2 separate regions of the Homo sapiens genome follow, and region 2 is linked to region 1. Evidence: promoter capture Hi-C in 16 types of primary human blood cells and fetal thymus (Javierre and others, 2016). All regions are on one chromosome and are shown on one strand. The core of a region is centred on a gene start or on the middle of the fragment in contact, and the rest is flanking DNA. Distances in the headings are between cores, read along the strand shown. Region 1 holds the start of TROAP (trophinin associated protein). Region 2 holds the start of DHH (desert hedgehog signaling molecule).

Region 1 (4,477 bases), core at 1-2,500:
AAACTATAGACAGGTAACAGACTCAAGCCAAGGTATATACATGTTATAAAAGAAGTGCTGCAAAGTATTAGGAGAACACAGAGCAACTGATTGTGACATGGGGAACTGGAAAAGGCTTCAGAAGAAGTGATATTTATTATTTATTTATTTATTTATTTTTTAAAGAGATGGGATCTCCCTCTGTCATCCAGGCTGGTCTCCAACTCCTGGCCTCCAGTGATCCTCCTGCTTCAGCCTCCTGAGTAGCTGTGATTACAGGTACAAGCCATGGCACCTGGCGAGATGACATTTTGCTGGAGGAAAGGGAGATCTTCTAAGAGCAAAGAGCTTTCCAGGAGCTGGGACCAGGACTATCACAGTAAGTAGGAGACAGCAGGAGTGAGTGCAAAACCCCAAAACCCCACTTTTACCCTTCCTAGTCCCCTACTCAGCCATGGAGGCCGTGTTACCATGGCTCCAACAGGTACCTGTCTGGGCAGGGGGCCCAGGCCCCACATTTTGACCCCTAGGGCTAGGCCTGAGCTCTTCCAAGGGGTTCCGAGGCTGACTGATCCCCACCAATCTTTGTGATGTCTCTGCCTGGTGCCTGGCTTTCGGCCTGGGGCCTGCTGAATCAACGAGGGGGCGTTGAATATTGAGCGGTGGTTTCTGCACCCATCTCTAGGGGAGGGAGCGGGGACAAAAAGGTGAGGTTTAGTGTTGGGGTGCATTACTGGTGTGACTACTGTCTTCCCCCATTAGGCCCCTCTTACCCTTGGATCTTGGTTCTCCTGGTCCACGGCGCACGATGTAACAGTGGGGAAAGGCGTGCGTTTCTGAGAGCGTACCGGAATCTTGCTAGGGGTAGGAGATACACCCCGGAGGAGGGGATCCTTCGTGGCTTGCCGGGTGGTCATGATGGCTACAATTGAGACGGGGAAGAAGGCAGGCAGAATCTAAGATCAAAGATCAACCAGTTCTCGGGGCACCTGTCCTGCCATCCCTGATACCTCCGCCCTAATCCACGCGCCCACAAGCCCCCGGCGCCTGCAAGACCGCTCTTATGGGTGCTATCTCCAGACACCCCGAGCCTACTCTTTCGCCCTCGGGCCCCAAACTGCCCTCCTCCCTATGAACCCAGCAGCCTTCGTTCCCTTCAAGACCCCCGTGCCTTACCTTACCGAGGCCCCTCAGGGCCTACCCAGCTTCCTCCGCTTTTCTCCTGACCCTCTCGGGTGCTGCTGGAGCTACTTTCTCAGTTTGTAAAATACGCCAAGCTCTTGATTGGCCCGGTCGCGCTCCCGCGGAGGCCCGCGTAGCCAGACTCAGCCGTCCAATCCGCGGGCATCGCAGGAGGGGCCAAAAGAAGGACCAATTGTCGAACCGCTTTCTGGCGAGGAAAAAAACTGACTCGGATCAATCAGCCAATCCGAGAGTGGAGCGCCGCTGGGAGGCGGGGAAAGAGGAAGGATGGGGCCGTTCCGAGGCCGGGGAAGGCGTAGCCACGGGAGCTCTCGCGAGGCCTCAGGACCGGCTAGGGGCCGGCCATTGGCAGGACCGGGCGAGGTCGCGGTACTGAGGGTACAGTTGATCGTTCCGATTGCTGCCAACGGTGTTGAAGGCTGGCCCGAGCCCCCGACCCGGCTTGACCATAGCACGGCGCCAAGCTTTGGGGACGCCATTCCAGATGCCCATAGAAAATATCTGCGTCCGGGCGCGGTGGCAGGCGCCTGTAATCCCAACACTTTGGGACGCCGAGGCGGGAGGATCTCTTGAGCTGAGTTTGAGACCAGCCTGGGCAACATAGCGAGACCACTCCCACCCGTTTCTCTACAAAATAATAAAATAATAATAATAATCCCTGTGCAGTGGTGCGCGCTTGTAGTCCCAGCCGCTCTGGAGGCTGAGGCAGGAGGATCGTGTTGAGCCCAGGAGGTTGAGGCTGTAGTGAGCTGTGGTCGCGCCACTGCACTCCAGCCTGGGCAACAGAGACCCTGTCTTAAAAAAAATAAAGAGGGAAAGAGAGAACATCTGTACGTTGTCTCCGGGATAAGGAACTGCCTTCAAACGGGCGGAGAGGGCTGGAGGGAATCGAACTGAGCCTAACAATATGTGTGCTCCTTGGAGCCTCACAATCCAGTGAGGTGTCTGATGAGGTGTCTTTCATTTTACGGGTAGGTAACAAGACTCATTGTTTTTGAACTCAGTTACCACAGCACCAGAATTGAATGGCTACTCACAGCTGGGGATTTCCTTGCCTCCAGGTTGCCTTTTGCAGATCTAGAGGTCTGGGGAGAGGGGGCTCACCTGCTGGTTATTGGTGGGCAAGGCTGTGAGACTGAGAGATCCTAGAATATCCTGCTTAAGATGGAAGGGGTAACCCCTAACGGGGGACAGGAAATGAACAACACTTAACAGAACTCTGGTGGATTTTCCCCACCAATCACAGAAGTTATTCTTACACAAGCCAGAAACCGAGGAGTTACTCCTTAACTCCTCCCACTCCCTTTACATATCCCATCTCTCATTCACTCTCACTAGTTTTACTATTTATGCATTTTTGGGACAGGGTCTCACTCTGTCGCCCAGGCTGGAGTGCAGTGGTGCGATCTCAGCTCACCGCAGCCTCGGCCTCCTGAGGTGGGAACCTCAGCCTCTCAAGTAGCTGGGACTACAGGTGCCTGCCACCAGCTAATTTTTGTGTTTTTTTGTAGAGACAAGATCTGGCTACGTTGTCTAGCCTGGGGTTACAGGCGTCTTTCCCAGCACTTTGGATGGCCCAGGTGGATCGCTTGAGGCCAGGAGTTCCAGACCAGCCTAGACAGTGTAGCAAGATCCTGTTTCTATAAAAAAAAATTTAAAGATACGTAAGGTATCTTTACTAATTGTATGCATCTTTAAAATTCATCTACTTTCAGGCTGTGCGCGGTGGCTCACGCCTGTAATCCCAGCACTCTGGGAGGCCAAGGCAGGGGGATCACCTGAGGTTGGGAGTTCAAGACCAGGCTGACCAACATGGAGAAAACCGTCTCTACTAAAAACACAAAAATTAGCCGGACTTGGTGGCTCATGCCTGTAATCCCAGCTACTCAGGAGGCTGAGGCAGGAGAATCGCTTGAACCCAGGAGGCGGAGGTTGAGGTGAGCCGAGATCGCACCACTGCAACTCCAACCTGGGCAACAAGAGCGAAACTCCGTCTCAAAAAAAAACCAAACAAACAACAACAAAAAGATCATCTACTTTCGGCTGGGTTTATGACTGTAATCCCAGCACTTTGGGAGGCCGAGGTGGGCGGATCACCTGAGGTCAAGAGTTTGAGACCATCCTGACCAACATTGTGAAACCCCGTCTCTACTGAAAATACAAAAATTAGCTGGGCATGGTGGCTGATGCCTGTAATCCCAGCTACTTGGGAGGTTGAGGCAGGAAAATCACTTGAACCCAGGAGGCAGAGGCTGCAGTGAGCCAAGATTGTGCCACTGCATTCTCCAGCCTGGGTGACAAGAGTGAAACTCTGTCTCAAAAAAGAAAAAAAATTTCTTACTTTCTCTTTCTTTCTTTTTTCTTTTTCTTTCTTTCTTTCTTTTTTCTTTCTCTCTTTTTCTTTCTTTCTCTTTTTTTTTCTCTCTCTCTTTCTCTCTCTCTCTCTCACTCTCTCTTTTTCTTTCTTTCTTTTTTTTTGAGACAGAGTCTTGCTCTATCCCCCAGGCTGGAGTGCAGTGGCCTGATCTCAGCTCACTGCAGCCTCCACCTCCCGGGTTCAAGCGATTCTCCTGCCTCAGCCTCCTTAGTAGCTGGGATTACAGGCACCAGCCACCATGCCCAGCTAATTTTTGTATTTTAGTAGAGACGGGGTTTCACAATGCTGGTCAGGATGGTCTCGAACTCCTGACCTCAAGTGATCCACTTGCCTCGGCCTCCGAAAGTGTTGGGATTACAGGCGTGAGCCACCGCACCCGGCCCATCTACTTTCTTGTTCTTTGTTAGCACCACCCTAATCCACCTCAGTCTCACCTAGGCAATTGCAAGAGTGTCTTAGTTGGTCTCCCATCCCCTATTCTCTCTTTCTCTTCACACTCTTCCATTCTCCATATAGCAGCTAGAGTAATCTTTCCAAAATGCACATCAAGTCAGGCTACCACTATCCCTTGACCTCTCCCCACTGAAACCCTCCATCTTCTACCACTCTTCCCCTTCTATTAATATCTCCAACTTCATGGCTTCTTTCAATTCCTCAAGTTTGTCCTGATTGCTCTATATGGTCCCTGTTTCTGGAATGTCCTTTTCACTTCCACTTGGCCTATTTATGCCTCCAAATTGATTCCCATTGTTATTTCCTCAGGCCTTCCTTGCACCCCTCTACCTACCACCCACCCCAATCTAGTAAAGACCTCTTGGCTATGTGCTCGCAAAAAGTAATGTTTGTTTCCTCAGAGCATGTATGTTAGTTGGTAATTATATATTAATCAGTGTGAACATAATATGTTTACTAAACCCA
Region 2 (4,473 bases), core at 785-3,284, 230 kb after region 1:
ACTCATACCTTCAGCCCTATCCTCCCTGGCTTAACTATTGGATATAGAGTAAAATAAGTGGCTGGCTGACAAGGATTTTCATTTCCTACCTGAGAGAAGAATCTAGCTTTTTACTAGAGGCCATCAGTTTCTTGAAAAGCCCATGTGCTATGTTGGGAGTAAGAGCGCAAAACTTAGGCTTATACAGATTGTGTATTGCACAGCTTCCAGGGACACCATTCACCTCATAGTCATTGTGTGGATAGTTACTATGATAGTTTTCTAATAAATGTCAGTCATCTTGAGGAAGGGGTGCTTTTTTTTTCTTTTTTCTTCTTCTTTTTTTTTTTTTTTTTTTTGTGAGACAAGGTCTGGCTCTATCACCCTGGCTGGAGTGCAGTGGTGCAATCTCAGCTCACTGCAACCTCCGCATTCTGGGCTCAAGCCATTCTTCCAGCTCAGGCTCCAGAATAGCTAGGACAACAGACACATGCTACCATGCCTGGCTAATTTTTGTATTTTTAGTAGAGATGGGGTTTTGCCATGTTGCCTGGGCTGGTCTTGAACTCCTGAGCTCAAGTGATCCACCTACCTTGGACTCCCCAAATGATGGAATTACAGGGGTTAGCCACAACACCCAGCCATCTTTTTTTTGGGGGGGGGGGTCCTCACTCTGTCACCCAGGTTAGAGTGCAGTGGCATGATCTTAGCTCACTCTACAGCCTTGAACTCTTGCACCCAAGTGATCCTCCTTCCTCAGCCTCCTGAGTACCTAAGACTACAGGCATGTACCACTACCTCCCACTAATTAATTTTTTTTTTTTGAAACGGGGTGTCACTATGTTGACCAAGTTGGTCTTCAACTCATGGCCTCAAGCAGTCCTTGCCTCGCCCCCAAAGTGTTGGGATTACAGGAGTGAGCCACTGTGCCTGGCCTGGTTTTTTCTGATGTACACAAAGTTGCTATGAGTACTAGCCATAGAGTGTGGTGAGGGGAGGGTGAATATGAAACACAAAGTGTAGATTCCACAAATGCTTGCAAAGCACCCTTCTGTAGAGTAGGCACTTAACCTTGGAGATACATGATAAATATGTGTGTGCTTAAGATTGCTTTGTCTAGTAAGGTGCCAGATAATTCTAATACTGTTCTAACACTGCAGTTAAGTAATGGTTCTCGAGGGAACACAGGTGGGCAGTGTTGGGACATCAAGGAAGGCTTCTTAGAAGAAATGACTTCTAAACAAAAGAAATTGGACGTGGTGCCTCTGAGATGAGATCTGAGTGGCTGAAAATGGAGCCCCGGGAGTCCAGAGAGGGAGAAAGCTGGAGAGGTGCCTAGATGGACGGTTAAGGGAAGTGATCCTCACCTCTTACAAAGACTTTTGAGTGTCCACTGCCCTTCAGCAGCTTCCAACTGAGAAGTCATTCATTTGAAAAACAGCAGCTATTAGATGCCTGGCAAAGAAGAGAAGGGGAAAAAAGTTGGAAGTCCTAAATGAGACAATAAGTACCAAGCTCTGTTCCTGGTTCTGGGGAAGTTCCAAAGGAGACTGCAAAGTTAGTAGAGAAATGGGCCCCTGGTATCCTCACCTCCCAGTCCTGCTTAATGCTGAATGTGAGGAGAGATGGAAGTCGGGGAGATCTGGGGAGGACTACAGAGAAGGGAGGCTCTGGTTGTATGCCCAAAGGGCTTGGCTGGTCTTGGGCAGAAATTGGAACCCATACTTCCTGGATGACAGCGGAGGGCATGGCCTGCCAGGGTAGGCTTTGAGAGAGTAAAAATTCCAATTCAAGTATCAGAGGAGGGTGGTTTGGTTCCAAGTTTAAGCTTGGAGGTAGAAGGATGTTTAGGCAGCCAAGGACTGTAAAGCTACAAGTATTTCCTAGGCAGGTGTCTGCCTGGTTTCCAGGATGGGACACACTTCAGTCGCAAAATGGACCAGCAGTGACCGGCTAGATCCCCCGCCCGGGTGGGAGGGGGTGGGACGGTCTTGGGAGAAGGGCGGAGGGCGGGGCCAGGGGCCACTTAAGGCGGAGTCCGGAGTCCGGGCGTTCTGGCAGCACCAGAGTCCTGCAGCAGAGACGGGCTGGGCTGGCACTCACCCACGACCCCCCTTCCCTGCTATGATGGTTTGTCAGTAGCAGGTCCTAGACACCCCCCGCCCGCTCCCGGGGCACGTGGGCAGAGCTAGCAGCAGCCAGGTGCACGGAGCCACAAGAGCTCTAGGGCACTCTGGGGGCAGCTGTGCCTGCTGCCCTCTCTGGTGCCTGTGGAGATGCCTAACTGACAGGAGAGTTAGTGAGGACAAGAACGCTCCCTTTTGGCCGAGGTCCGCTGTATCCATGGCTCTCCTGACCAATCTACTGCCCCTGTGCTGCTTGGCACTTCTGGCGCTGCCAGCCCAGAGCTGCGGGCCGGGCCGGGGGCCGGTTGGCCGGCGCCGCTATGCGCGCAAGCAGCTCGTGCCGCTACTCTACAAGCAATTTGTGCCCGGCGTGCCAGAGCGGACCCTGGGCGCCAGTGGGCCAGCGGAGGGGAGGGTGGCAAGGGGCTCCGAGCGCTTCCGGGACCTCGTGCCCAACTACAACCCCGACATCATCTTCAAGGATGAGGAGAACAGTGGAGCCGACCGCCTGATGACCGAGGTAAGGAGGGCCTCTCCCTACCTGCGCCGGGGCACTGCCAGCTCCTCCGTTTTCCTATGGCAGCCCAGGTGGGTGAGTCCAGCTTCACCTACAGAGAGTTTAGCCTTAGAGATTTCCCTTGTCACCAGCCCCAGGGGGGGGAAAAATCCTTGCAGTCTGGACAGAGTAATTAGGACGGCTCCCGACTAGAATAGTCTGGGATGGGGAGGGGAGGAGGGACTGACTAGTGAGAGTGAAGCTGGTAGAGGCAGCGAGGGCGGGGAAAGGAGGATGGCGGCAGGCGAGACGGGAAATGGCTGAGGCGTGGACCGGGGGTCAGCCACCCAGCCAGGCAGGAAGGGCTGGGGTGAGCTGGGGGCCAGGAGCTGGCTAGGTAGCAGACAGAAGCCTGGCTCCTGACCTGATTGTAGAAAAGCTCTGTGGGCCGAAAAGAAGAGACTGAAAAGGGCTGGGACAGGGGTGGCCAAGGGTCAGGTCACCAGACCATCTACCTGAGGAGGGGCTGGGCAGACATTGCTTTTGGCATGGGAAACGTGTCCTAGAACCAGGACACATCTATTCTAGGGTCTATTCTAGGGCTATCCTAGGGTCTAAACGATAATCTTGGGGTTAAAAAGTAATCCTCAGTGAGAATAACAGATGGACCCACCTGAGAATCAGAGGGCTCCTAAGTCTTCCAAGCTCTGCCTATCTCAGGGGCTTTCCTTGGAATTACATAATTAGGATAAATTCAACTACCATTTTTGAGCATTGGAACCACCTAGAGTGAGGTGGAAGAGAAGGACCACCTCTGGCGAGTGATTTATTTTTTATTTTTTGTAGAGACGGGGTCTTGCCATGTTGCCTAGGCTAGTCTTGAACTCCTGAGCTCAAGGGATCCTCCCACCTCGGCCTCCCAAAGTGCTGGATTACAGGTGTGAGCCACTTCATCCAGCCTGGCCAGTGATCTTGAATGTTAGAACTGAAAGAAAACTTGAGAGATGACATTCCTCCAACCCTCCCCACCCCCACTGCCACCCTCATTTTACATCTGAGAGCTGGACTTCCCCCAGGAGGAAAAGCAATTTAAACTCTCACAATTTAAAGTGGCATGGCTGGGACTAGAATTCAGGACTCCTGATTCTAAGCCCTATATACTTTCCATTACACCACCTAATTGTGTATGGAGTGGGGAGGTGGGGGGAGAGGGAGGGGTACGGATTTCCTCTGATTAATTGCCATAGTTTTCCAGGTTACTTTGTTAGGAAAACCTGTCCAGGGAAGAAATAATTCCTTTTGCTTCTGCCCTGAAGCCTTCCTCCTACCTAGAGATGGGAAAAGGGGCATTCCTTCTTTCCTCCTTGGCCGTGGAACATTGTGGCCCTTTCCTCTGGTTGCCACCTGCAGCAGAGTGGGCAGAACAAGGGACAGGCTCAGGAGGGGCTCCGGCAGGCCTGGGAGCCCCCTCAGTCTTACTTATCTCCCACACCCTGGCTGCAAAAGGCCTCCATTGAGTTGGCTCTGCACTGGGCTGCTGCCCCCGCAGGTCAGGGCCTCGGGGCCTCCTTAGGGGACGAAACGACAAAGTTGGAAGGAGCTACCACTTTTCCTGTTTTCCCCCCACCCAACCCCAACTCTGCGGGGTGGAGGAGACTAGAGGAGAGGGGAAAAGTGTCTTTCTGTTAGGAGAAAACCAAGTCCGAGGTGAGAGGTCGGAGGGGAAAGAAAAAAAGGAAGCTGTCCCTCTGCGCCTCCTCCCGCGGTGTCCCTGCTATGGTGCGCGCCAAGGTCTCCCGCTCCCAGGCTGGAGCGGCCAAGATAACTGTGGTCTCACTCCCCCAGGTGCAGGCTTCCAGCCGCAGCTTCTTT

Evidence for each region. Contacts are between HindIII fragments. The CHiCAGO score rates a contact against its expected background, and 5 or more counts as called.
Region 2: the fragment with the promoter of DHH here is called in contact with the fragment with the promoter of TROAP in region 1 in 9 of 17 cell types (neutrophils, M2 macrophages, erythroblasts and 6 more); the score reaches 12.3 in neutrophils.

Annotation. Positions count from the first base shown.
Region 1 is chr12:49,320,028-49,324,504 of GRCh38, reverse strand. It overlaps TROAP (trophinin associated protein), which reads right to left and starts at 1,250. Exons shown (of 15, transcript NM_005480.4): 1 at 1,156-1,250; 2 at 753-901; 3 at 468-660. The coding sequence starts at 896. It overlaps TROAP-AS1 (TROAP and PRPH antisense RNA 1), which reads left to right. Exons shown (of 8, transcript NR_120449.1): 1 at 1-13; 2 at 166-358. RefSeq lists enhancers at 1,027-1,176, 2,318-2,537. The HindIII fragment of the contact is 3,639 bases long and covers 1-1,648 here.
Region 2 is chr12:49,092,362-49,096,834 of GRCh38, reverse strand. DHH (desert hedgehog signaling molecule) reads left to right here and starts at 2,034. Exons shown (of 3, transcript NM_021044.4): 1 at 2,034-2,625. The coding sequence starts at 2,323. It overlaps DHH-AS1 (DHH antisense RNA 1), which reads right to left. Exons shown (of 4, transcript XR_007063295.1): 2 at 3,930-4,005; 3 at 2,647-2,713; 4 at 1,091-1,434. RefSeq lists a cis regulatory region at 4,080-4,097 and an enhancer at 4,017-4,161. The HindIII fragment of the contact is 10,631 bases long and covers 1,810-4,473 here.